Linked DNA regions of Homo sapiens: region 2 is linked to region 1. The links are contacts of gene promoters, found by promoter capture Hi-C in blood cells and fetal thymus (Javierre and others, 2016). All regions are on one chromosome and are shown on one strand. Each heading gives the region's core, a stretch centred on a gene start or on the middle of the fragment in contact. The rest is flanking DNA. Distances are from core to core; before and after follow the strand shown. Region 1 holds the start of AHCY (adenosylhomocysteinase). Region 2 holds the start of TP53INP2 (tumor protein p53 inducible nuclear protein 2).

Region 1 (5,983 bases), core at 2,820-5,319:
TCCAGCCTGGGCAACAAGAGCGAAACTCCGACAAAAAAAACAAAAAACAAAAAACAAAAAAACCTCAGCATGTTGGGAGGCTGAAGCAGGTGGATCATTTGAGGTCAGAGGTTCAAGACCAGCCTGGCCAACATGGCGAAAGCCCATCTCTACTAAAAATATAAATATTAGCCGGGTGGTAGCGACATGCACCTGTAATCCCAGCTACTCAGGAGGCTGAGGCAGGAGAATGGCTTGAGCCTGGGAGAGGTGGAGGTTGCTGTGAGCCTAGATAGCAGACCCTGTCTCAAAAAAAAAAAAAAAGAAAAAGAAAAAAGAAACAAAGAAAACACAGAGAAATCCCAATGCCCTTTGCTCGCTTTCTCCCAATGGTGACATCTTGCAAAACCATAATAAAACATCTCAACTAGGATACTGACAATGATAAAGCAAGATCCAGAACATTCCATCACCACAAAGTTTCCTCATGTTGCCCTTTTACAGCCACATTTACCTCTCTCTTGCTCCCGTCCCCTACCTAATACCTGGCAACCACTAATCTGTGGTTCATTTCTATAATTTGGTCATTTCAAGAATATTATAGAAATGAAATAATATACTATGTAATATATTGGAATTGGTTTTTGTCACTCAGCATAATTCTCTAAGGATTCATCCAGGTTGCTGCATTTATCAAAGTTTATTCCTTTTGCTGAGTATTATTTCATGGTATGGCTGTACCAATTTGTTTAACTGTTCATCCATTAAAAGAACCTGGCTGGGCGTGGTGGCTTACACCTGTAATCCCAGCACTTTGGAAGGCCAAGGCGGGAGGATCACTTGATGTCAGAAGTTCAAGACCAGTCTGGCCAACATGGTGAAACACCGTCTCTATTAAAAATACAAAAATTATCCGGGTGTGGGAGCGTGTGCCTGTAATCCCAGGTACTTGGGAGGCTAAGGTACGAGAATCACTTTGAACCTGGGAGACAGAGGTTGCAGTGAGCCGAGATCACACCATTGCACTCCAGCCTGGGCAACAGAGAGACACTCTTTCTCAAAAAAAAAAAAAAAGAAGCTGAAATAATAGGAAATTGGCTATATCAATTGCAATATATCCATAGGCTAGAACATTCTGCTGCTAGAGAGGTTGCATAAGGCCAGACTAAGGTGCTTAGACCTTCTCCTGAGACCAGCAGTCTCCAAAGTTTTGTTCATATGAACTTAACGGTACAAATATTAGCAAATATCTCATTAGCTGATATCTCAAAGCACGATATACAGTGAGGATGAGAGTCATCATTAATTAATGAGAGGGCATGTAAATTCACATTTCTTTTTTTTTCTTTTTTTTTTTTTTTTTTTGAGGCAGTCTTGTTCTGTCACCCAGGCTGGAGTGCGGTGGCGCAATCTTGGCTCAATGCAACATCCGCCTCCTGGGTTCAAACAATTCTTGTCCCTCAGCCTCCTGAGTAGCTGAGTTTACAGACGTGCACCATCACGCCCGGCTAATTTTTGTATTTTTAGTAGATACAGGGTTTCACTATGTTGGCCAGGCTGGTCTGGAACTCCTGACCCCAAGTGATCCACTCGCCCCGGCTTCCAAAGTGCTGGGATTACAGGTGTGAGTCACTGCGCCTGGTCCGTAAATTCATATTTCAAAGTGTCTTTTTCATTGTTTTCTCAAATTTTATTACATTCCTTACAACATGGCTGACAAAGACCAGCATTCATACCAGAAAGAGACCTGTCAGCTGTGTCCTTTTCTACTTGTTTGCTGTGCTGGTAATTTTCACAGTATCTGGAACTTGCCATTTCTTTGCAGGAATATTTTGAAGCCATTTTTCTGTTCTCGTAGGACAACCTAGTAACATGATCCTACGTTTAGTTAGACTGACACGACTCACTACACACTGCAATGCACTGCAGAATGCTGAAAGGGATGCGTGAGGACCCTGCTGCCCACCTCCCAGGCGTGGACCCTCGTTCCCTCAGGAAGTCTCTGCTTGACATCGGCCCTCATGACTCTCAGACAGAGGTCAGATGTACAGATCAAGTGAGACCAATACATTTACTATGTCATAGAAGACCTTAATTCTTATTTTTATTTTTTATTTTTTGAGACAAGAGTCTCCCTCCGTCGCCCAGGCCGGAGTGCAGTGGTGCGATCTCGGCTCACTGCAAGCTCGGCCTCCCGGGTTCACGCCATTCTCCTGCCTCAGCCTTGCGAGTAGCTGGGACTACAGGCTCCCGACACCACGCCCAGCTAATTTTTTTTTTTTTTTGTATTTTTAGTAGAGATGGGGTTTTACCCTGTTAGCCAGGATGGTCTCGATTTCCTGACCCCGTGATCCGCCCGCCTCGGCCTCCCAATGTGCTGGGATTACAGGCGTGAGCCACGCGCCCGGCCAGAAGAGTTTAATTCTTTTCTCATTTTTAGGTTAAAAAATGAGTAGAGGCCGGGCACGGTGGCTCACGCCAGTAATCCCAGCACTTTGGGAGGCAGAGGCTGGCGGATCACCTGAGGTCGGGAGTTCGAGATTAGCCTGACCAATATGGAGAAACCCCGTCTCTACTAAAAATACAAAATTAGCCAGGCGTGGTGGCTCATGCCTGTAATCCCAGCTACTCGGGAGGCTGAGGCAAGAGAATCGCTTGAATCCGGGAGGCAGAGGTTGGTGTGAGCCAAGATCATGCCATTGCACTCCAGCCTGGGCAACAAGCGCCAAACTCTATCTCAAAAAAAGAAAAAACAAAATTAGCCAGGTGTGGTGGTGCGTGCCTGTAATCCAAGCCACTCGGGAGGCTGAGGCAGGAGAATTGCTTGAACCCGGGAGGTGGAGGTTGCAGCGAGCCTAGATGGTGCCACTGCACTCCAGTGTGGGCGACAGAGTGAGACTCCATAAAAAAAAAAAAAAATTCAGGGGAAAAAAAGCAATTAAAAAAACATAACTATAAAAATAATACAAATTACAAAACAACCATTTGCATAGCATTTACATTATATTAGTTATAAGTAATCTAGAGATGATTAAAGTGTACGGAGGAATGTGCATAGGTTATATGCCAATACTGCCTCATTTTATATGAGGGACTTGAACATAGAAGGGTTTTGGAGTCCACAGAGGTCCTGAAACCAATTTCCCCTTCCCATGCCTGGGATGACTGAATTATACAGCAGCAAAAATGAATATACTCAAGCTATATGCATGAGTCTCATAAATATAATGCTCACAGAAAAAAGCAAGTTGCAGAAGGGTAAATACGGTTGATATATAAAGGTGCTAAACACAGAACTATTTAATGATATACGGATGCAGTAAAAGTATAAGAAATGTATGCAAACTTACTTAAATTCAGGGTGTTGGTTACTTGGAGTAAGGCGAATGTTTGGGATGTCAGTAGGTACCTGACAAATGGCAACTTAACTTTGTTTTGGTTTTTTTGAGATAGGGTCTTGCCCTTTCGCCCAGGCTCAAGTGCTGTGGTGGGATGATAGCTCACTGCAGCCTCGATCTCCAGGCTCAAAAGATCCTCCCTCCCGCCTCCGCGTCCCAAGTAGCTGGGACCACAAGCGCGCGCCACCACGCCCGGCTAATTTTTAATTTTTTTTTGTAGAGTTCAGGTCTCACTGTGTTGCCCAGGATGGTCTTGAACTCCTGGGCTCAAGCGATCCTCCCGCCTTGGCCTCCCAAAGTGCTGGGATTACAGGTGTGAGCCACCGCGCCTGGCCTGCAACTTTACTTATAATAATCTGTGTGGCAGATGTCATTTGGCCCATTTTACAGATGAGGAAATTGAGGCACAGGGAAGTGAACTGGCGGAATTTCAGTTCCGCTGGGTTTTGACACTGAATCAACTGGCTGAACCAGCGAGAGGACGGCCCGGCTGGCTCTCAGGCCTCTCCCGGCGCTCCCTTCCGGACCGGTGAGTGAGACTCCTGGGGCCACGCCTTGTGAAATTCTGAGGCTTCTTTTCAGGGATCGAAATCCCCTCCGGCTCCGCCCTGCGCGTTGGGCCCCGCCCCAGCGGGTCATGAATATGCAAGTGCGAGGAAGATATTTAAAGGCGTCGGCGCCACGCGCATATCCCTGCTCGGCGCTGCCCGCCCAGTTCCTGTTCCCAGACTGAGGCCCAGCCCCCTTCGCCCGTTTCCATCACGAGTGCCGCCAGCATGTCTGACAAACTGCCCTACAAAGTCGGTGAGTCCCAGGACCTGCAGCCGGTTGCGGCCGCCCGGCACCCGCCCGGGGCTTGTTCGTGGCGGGGGCTGCAGGGCCGACTCGGGGCTCTCTGGACCCCCTGGAATCGCAGCCTCGGCGCGTTTCTGGCCGCGCGAAGCCAGCTGGAAGTTGGAGTTCTCGCGCGGCCATGAGCGGGCCGTTCCGGGTGGCCGTGGACTACAAGTCCCAGCATGCCCCGCGACGCCGGGGCCGCCGCGCGGTCTGCGAGCCGCAAACTGGCGGCGTGCTCCGCGGGAGAGCACACCTGGCCACGGCCTGGGACGGCTGGCACCTGCCGGACCCTGCTCGGGGGGCCTGCGCCCGGCCTCCTAGGCCTGGACCGGACCCTGTCCAGCTGGGCGGCCCCGACGAGCGTCCACCCCTCTCTGGGCCTCCTACAGGGACGGCGAGGGCACCCCGGAGGGTGTATGAGGAGAGGCCTGGAAAGCGAGCCCCAGGCCGGCTCCGATCCTCCTCTCCCCTGGGACTTTGGGCCAGTTACCCAACCTGTGGGGTCCCCCACCCCTCCAGCAGGGGCAGCCTTGCAGAAATCTCGAAGAAAATTTGGAGTGGTTTGAAAAATCCTGCTGTCCCACCGATTGAAGTGTAATACAGGGATAGTTAACGTTTACTTAGTGTTTCCTGTGGGATCGGCACTGCCTTCTAGCTTTATTCTAGTCTCATGGCTCTATAGGGAAACTGTTCTCATTTTATGATGAGAATCCTGAGGCAGAGGTAACTTGCCCTCAGTCTTACAGCTGGTGGTGATGGAGCAAGATTGGAACGCAGGCCATCTAGATCTCTGAGCGCACCCTTTCACCACTGTGTGCAAGCGAATACACGCGGAACAATCCTAGTGAATTTTCAGCAAAAACCAGTTCAGTTTGGCTGGTAGCTTTTCAAGTAACTTTGACACTATTGGACCGGGTGTGGTGGCTCACCCCTGTAGTCCCAGCACTTTGAGAGGCCGAGGTGGGCGAATCACTTGAGGTCAAGAGTTCGAGACCAGCCTGGCCAACGTGGTGAAACGCTATCTCTACCAAAAATACAAAAACTAGCTGGGCGTGGTGGCGGGCGCCTTCATTCCCAGCTACTCGGGAGGCTGAGGCAGGAGGACTGTTTGAGCCGGGGAGACGGAGGTTGCAGTGAGCCGAGATTGCACCACCACGCTCCAACCTGGGCAACAGAGCAAGACCCTGTCTCAAAAAAAAAAAACAAACAAAAAAAGACACTATTAAGTCTGGAGAATGCCATCCACATTTATGGAAACACTTGCTGTATATCTGGTGATTTACGTGTGTTTACACAATAATCTTCATAGAGGTGGACGTAATCCCGTTATATAGAGCATGAAACTGAGGCCCTTGGGAGGTGACTTGCAAAGATTCTGTTGAAGTAGTTCATCAAGTTGCTACCAGAGTAGACTGTCTCCATTGTGTGGATGCTGAAACTGAACCCAGAAAGGTTATGTGAAGGTCACATCAATAGTAGAGCTGGAATGGGGGCTTGTCATACTGTGGAGAGATTAGTGGGTCAGGATTGGGGCCATTGGGTTGTGTGGGTGGAGATAAAGCTGGATTTGGGGATGGGGAGCTTAGCTGGGTGGGGCTGGAGGAAGGAGGCCCTGCTGTATGCCAGATCTTGATCATATGGCATTATCTTTACTTAAGGCGCATAGCAAGCTAGGGATGATTATCCACACTTTACAGATGAAGAAACTGATGTTTACAGGGGCTCTTGCTGTTCCTCTTGGCTTGTCCTGGGGACAGGTGTTCCTGTGA
Region 2 (5,925 bases), core at 5-2,504, 400 kb before region 1:
CAGGCCCTTCCTAGCTGACGACCTAGGAAGTTGGGAAGGTAAAGGGCCAATAGAGGGAACCCTCACCCCACCCTCCACCCCAACATCAGCCCTGGAGACACCCCGAGGCAGCCAATGACTCACCTCTCTGTGATCCAAACAGCTGGGAGGCAGCGATTTTATTGGACTCTAGGACTTCAAGGTACAGTGAGGACAGAAGGGGTCAGGACCACAAAAGGTGAACCAATCTCCAGAGATTCCCTGGAAAAGGGTCCAGGAGTAAGGACACCTAGGAGCCTATCAAACCGTGATAAGGCTGAGCCCAAGATCGGGTCCCCAGTGGAAGGAGGATGTGTATCTTACCACTTGTACTGAGCCCCTATTATGTCTTTGCCCCTGGCTAATAATCCATCTGTCACTCAGTGAGCATGACTCTAATTGGTTATGTGACCTCGAGAGAGCTAATCCTCCTCTCTGGGCCTGTTGCCCCTTCCATGCACTGGGGTCTAAGACCCTTCATTTTGGGTCTAGGAGTGACATCAGCTAAGGCGCTGCACACAAATCAGGGATTAGGAGGATGTTATTCTGTTAGTCCCTGGGGGCGGAGTCTGGAGCCGGAGGGAGGGGATCCCACCACCATCTGGTGCTGTCCCAACCACCTGGAGTCCCATGCAGCCCTGAACTCCTGACGACCCCCTCAACCTAGGCCCAGCAGCGCCGTCTGACTCCTTCTCAGGTTGCAAAGAGAAAGTAGGGGATCAGAGGCCTGACCCCAGCCCCTGGATAAGCCTAGGAAATCGCCGATCCCCCTGCAGCCCCCTTTGGATTGCAGCGTCTCACCCAGGGCCCAGCCCCGACACAGCGGCTACCGGGTCACGGGAGGACAAGCGACCCGAGCCTGTGGGGGCGGTACCGGCCTTGGTGACGTCTCAATGTCATATGCAAATAGAACGACGTCATGGTCTACCGGGCGTGCGGCAACCAATCGGGAGCCGGGAACGCGGCCCCGGCGGCCGCCGGCGGAGACAGACAAAGGCCCGGGCGCGGGGGGCGCAGGGCGTGTCCGTGGCAGGGGAGCCCCCAGGCCCACCCGGGTCGGGACTCACCTGGGGGCGGGAGGGGGGCGGCACGGCGTTGAGGTAGTTGTGCGGCGGGGCGTCCCAGGGTCGCCGGCCGCTCACAGGCCGGGCCGCATCGCCGGGACTCGCGGGGGAGGCGGCGGGGCCGCGGTCGCTCCGGGCTGCTGAGCTCGCCCGCGGGGCTTTGAGTCTGTGCGGCCGCTGCGGCGGGGCTCACGGCACAAATTGGAACGTTCAAACAGCTGATTGTGACGTCACAAAGGGGCCCGCCCGCCTCGCGTCACCGGCTGGCGGGGCGGCGGCCAATCCCGGGCTGCGGATCCCCCCCTGCCCCTCCCCTCCCCTCCCCTCCCGGTTTGCGGGCCGGGCGCTCGGGCCGGGAAACGTTCTCGGAACCGGGAGGGTGAGTGTTCGGGGAGGCAGCTGCGGGGAGCTGGGAGCCCTGCGCCGCGGCGAGCTCTCCGCGAGGAGGATCTCCACTCCCTCCTACCGGCTCCTTATTTTCCTGATTCTTCCCGGATCGCAGCGCCCTCACCTCTCCCACTGCTCCCCAAATCCTTTCACTGCATCCTATATCCAAGTCCCCCGATGCGGACCCTGTTCTCGACCCACACCACGTCCGTGCACCTGCATTCTCCCCACTGCCCTTATTCCTGCTCTCCCTCCCCCCTCTGGCTCACCTCCTCAGCCTTACACACTCTGCTTTCCCACCCCGTTTTTCCTCAGCTCGGCGGGCTTGAGAAAAGAGGGACATCCCCAACCCCCGGTTCCCGGGGAGCATCTGGGAATGTAGAGAAGTTAGTGAAGCTGACGTGAAATTTCGCAGAGTAGGACTTGGAGAGGAATTGCCCTGGGCTGAGTAAACATTGACCTGAGACGGCTCCGCGCTTGAACGTTTACATACCTTATTTAATCTATGTTGCTACCGGGGCTGTAAAGAAGTGGCAGGACAGGGACTGATTATGAGTCCTGATTTACACGTGGGAAAGCTGAGTCTCACAATCTCACTGTTAGCGTGTGAACTCATGTTCAACAATGCATTCAACATTTATTAGGCACCTACTATTGCACCACCATACCACTAGCTGACATGTATTGGCACACTTACTGTGTGCCACGACCTGTGCTATGGGTGTGTTTTTTTATCTTCACAACAACCCAAAAGGTAGATATTGTCCCGTTTAACAGTTGAGGAAACAGACTCAGAGAGCTCAAGTGACTTTCTTAGGTCACAAAAGTACAGTCAATGGCAGAGCCAGGATTTGAACCCATAGCTCCCAGCCCTGACCCTCTCCATTCTCTACATGAACCAGATGGTCTAAACCTCAGGGCGCTTTAGCCTCCCCAGAGTCCTGGCTTTCAGTCCTGACTGTGCCCTAGACTTGCTGTGTGACCTCAAGTCATGTTACCTCTCTGGGTCTCAGTTTGTCAAACAAACATATCCAGGCTTCCCTCTAGAGCTGCCATTGTAAGATTCTTCCACACTCTCTGCCCTCAGGATTCCACCCACCCCACGCTCTAGGCCCCAGCTCTCCCAGTGGCCTGGGAGATGCCCGAGAAGAGACCACAAATACACATATCAGAATCTCCAGGGCCAGAGGTTCTAGGTCAGCAGAGCAGGGCTGGTGGGGGAGGGTCCGAGAACTGCCCACCTAGCCCAAAAGGAGGCCGGAGGTGACCTAGGCCAGAGGTTAATGATCTAGTGATAAAACTTTTTTTTTTTTTTTGAGACGGAGTCTCGCTCTTGTTGCCCAGGCTGCAGTGCAGTGGCACGATCTCGGCTCACTGCAAGCTCCGCCTTCCGGGTTCACGCCATTCTCCTGCCTCAGCCTCCCGAGTAGCTGGGACTACAGGCGCCCGCTACCACGCCCGGCTAATTTTTTGTATTTTTTGTATTTTTGTATGTTTAGTGTTAGCCAGGATGGTCTCGGTCTCCTGACCTTGTGATCTGCCTGCCTCGGCCTCCCAAAGTGCTGGGATTACAGGCGTGAGCCACCGTGCCCGGCACTCTAGTGATAAAACTCTATCCCAGCCTCATCTGAAACCCCCAAGGGACTCCTTAACCCTAGCGACAGGGGAAGAAGCCAGAAAAAAATAACCCAAGGCTGAGGGGTGGAGAGGGGAGTGGCATTGTGGCCCTTGGAGTGTTATACCCAAAGTGTCCTCATTCCATGCAACTCTGAGCCTCTGCCCATCACAGCCACTTCCTGCTAACCTCATACCCTTTCAGACCTACTTGCTGACTTTAATTAAATAATCCCTAACACGTCTCTCCTGTCAAGCCACTTGTTTGTTCTAAAACCTGATGTGGCTCCTAAAGCCCCACACTCCTAACACAGAACTCATGCCCCCCATGCTCCGGCCCCAGTTCTCTCCAGCTTCACCTCCCCTTCTCCTACACGCATCTTGTGCTAAAGTCAAACTCCTTGTTGACTCTACAGCACTCTCCCACCTCCACCCTTTTGCTCAAGCTGTTTCCCCTGCCTGGAATGCCTTCTTCAGAACTTTCTGAAATCCAGATCTTTCCTGTCTTCAAGATTCTACTTGGCCAGGTGTGGTGGCTCACAGCCATAATCCCAGCACTTTGGGAGGCCAAGGCAGGAGGATTGCTTGGGGCCAGGAGTTTGAGACCAGCCTGGCCAATATAGCGAGACCACTTATCTGCAAAAAATGAGAAAATTAGCCAGATGCCATGCACCTGTAGTCCCAGCTGCTTAGGGAGGCTGAAATAAGAAGATCACTTGGGTTTAGGTTACAATGAGCTATGATCAAGCCACTGCATTCCAGCTTGGATGACAGAGCCAGACCCTGTCTCTTAAAAAAGAGAGAGAGAGGGAGAGATTCTACTCACCCTTTCTTCCTCTAGGTAGCCTTCCTTGTCCCTACCCACGAGTTGATGGCTACCTTGATGGACGTTTATTTGTCCATAAACAGTAAGTGATGATGACTCATTGTATGTGTATGTGTCTTCTCAAGTGGATGGTTGGCATCCCAAGGGCAGAGTCTTTGTCCCTATACTGCCCGCACCCAGCTTGTGGGGGTCTGGCATAGAGTAGACTTTCATCACAGGCTCAGTAGTTATAGCTTGAAGCTTAAGAAGGGTGGCTGGGGGCTGGGCACGGTGGCTCACGCCTGTAATCCCAGCACTTTGGGAGGCTGAGGCGGGCGGATCACGAGGTCAGGAGATTGAAACCATTCTGGCTAACACGGTGAAACCCCGCCTCTACTAAAAATACAAAAAATTAGCCAGGCGTGGTGGCGGGCGCCTGTAGTCCCAGCTACTCGGGAGGCTGAGGCAGGAGAATGGCGTGAACCGGGGAGGCGGAGCTTGCAGTGAGCAGAGATCGTGCCACTGCACTCCAGCCTGGGCGACAGAGTGAGACTCCATCTCAAAAAAAAAAAAAAAAAAAAAAGAAGGGTGGCTGGTTCAGGAGTATACACCTGCACTCTCTACCCTGTGTACAGGCAATGGTCTGTTGAACACATGGTTCTGGTTCCCCAAGCCCAGAAAAGGGGGCTCTTGGCTACACTCTGGTACCTTAAGTGACCGGACTCTGTTCCCAGAATTAGCTGAACCCCATTTCTAGGCTGCTAAGTCTTTCTAGGCTGCTAAGTCAGATCTCAGTCTTCCATTTCTCTGTAGAGTCAGAGGTACCCATGGAAGTCCCCTCCTGAAACCCCTAGGACCTATTCCTCCTGTCCACTACAAAGATTTATTACCTGGGCTGGAGGAGGCTTCAGACCTCAACTCATCCAAACCCCTCATTTTATAGGTGAGGAAACTGAGGTGCACTGAGACACATGCAGGTCAAGATACTTGCTTAGAATCATACAGCAGCAAAGCTATCTACTGACCCTGGCCCCAGAAAGTGGGCTTAGTATTCTGAGACTCTGGTCTGGGCCGGCAGGCTGTAAAAAGAGGCAGCAGAGCTGGGCGCGGCAGTGCAGGCCAGTAATCATAGCACTTTGGGAGGCCAAGGCAGGAGGATTGCTTAAGCCCAGGAGTTCGATACCAGCCTGGCCAACATGGCAAAATCCTGTCTCTATTAAAAATACAAAAATTAGCTAGGTGTGGTGGCCTGCACCTGAAGACCCAGCTACTCAGGAGGCTGAGGTGGGAGGATCAATTGAGCCTGGGTGGTTGCACTTCAGCCTAGGCAACATAGGGAGACACTGTCTCAAAAAAAAAAAAAAAAAAAAAAAAAAAAGGCAGTGAACATCATGCTGGGGTAACTCTGGAGTCTCATTTCCAATCAGACAGAGGGTGCCATTCCTATGCACACACATGGATAATCATGGGTATCTGTGCATACAATGAAGGCATCCATATATAAACATATACACACATGCACATGAGCTCATACTCAGAGTTACTAGGGACCCACGCCCATCTAACCCATGCCCAGGTGTGAGTACCTGCCCAATTTCATGGGCTGCAGGACTGGAGGTCAAGAGGCCACCCTTCAGGCCGGGCGCAGTGGCTCACGCCTATAATCCCAGCACTTTGGGAGGCCGAGCCAGGCAGATCACCTGAGGTCAGGAGTTCGAGACCAGCCTGGCCAACATAGTGAAACCCTGTCTCTACTAAAAAATACCAAAAAACTAGCCAGGCGTGGTGGCATGCACTTGTGGTCCCAGCTACTTGGGAGGCTGAGGCAGGAGAATTGCTTGAATCCGGGCGGCAGAGGTTGCCAGTGAGCAGAGATCACGCCACTGAACTCCAGCCTGTGCAACAGAGCAAGACTCCATCTCAAAAACAAAAATAAAAAAAAAGAGGCCACCCTTCTATTCCTCGGGCTTGCCCTCACCTGGGGGCTCCCCACTGGCTTGCCACTCCCACTGCCTGCCCCCCTCCGTGCCCCCTTAA

Evidence for each region. The method cuts DNA at HindIII sites, captures the fragments that hold promoters and counts their contacts. A CHiCAGO score of 5 or more calls a contact.
Region 2: a contact is called between the fragment with the promoter of TP53INP2 here and the fragment with the promoter of AHCY in region 1, in 15 of 17 cell types (naive CD8 T cells, activated CD4 T cells, total CD4 T cells and 12 more). The highest score is 17.0, in naive CD8 T cells.

What each region holds. Positions count from the first base shown.
Region 1 is chr20:34,301,441-34,307,423 of GRCh38, reverse strand. AHCY (adenosylhomocysteinase) reads left to right here and starts at 4,069. Exons shown (of 10, transcript NM_000687.4): 1 at 4,069-4,181. The coding sequence starts at 4,154. RefSeq lists enhancers at 3,705-3,824, 3,845-3,894 and a silencer at 4,465-4,694. The HindIII fragment of the contact is 32,031 bases long and covers 1-5,983 here.
Region 2 is chr20:34,699,673-34,705,597 of GRCh38, reverse strand. It overlaps TP53INP2 (tumor protein p53 inducible nuclear protein 2), which reads right to left and starts at 1,254. Exons shown (of 5, transcript NM_021202.3): 1 at 1,086-1,254; 2 at 124-240. It overlaps LOC105372599 (a long non-coding RNA gene), which reads left to right and starts at 1,416. Exons shown (of 2, transcript XR_936690.3): 1 at 1,416-1,461; 2 at 1,785-1,939. RefSeq lists a silencer at 979-1,458. The HindIII fragment of the contact is 9,202 bases long and covers 1-4,151 here.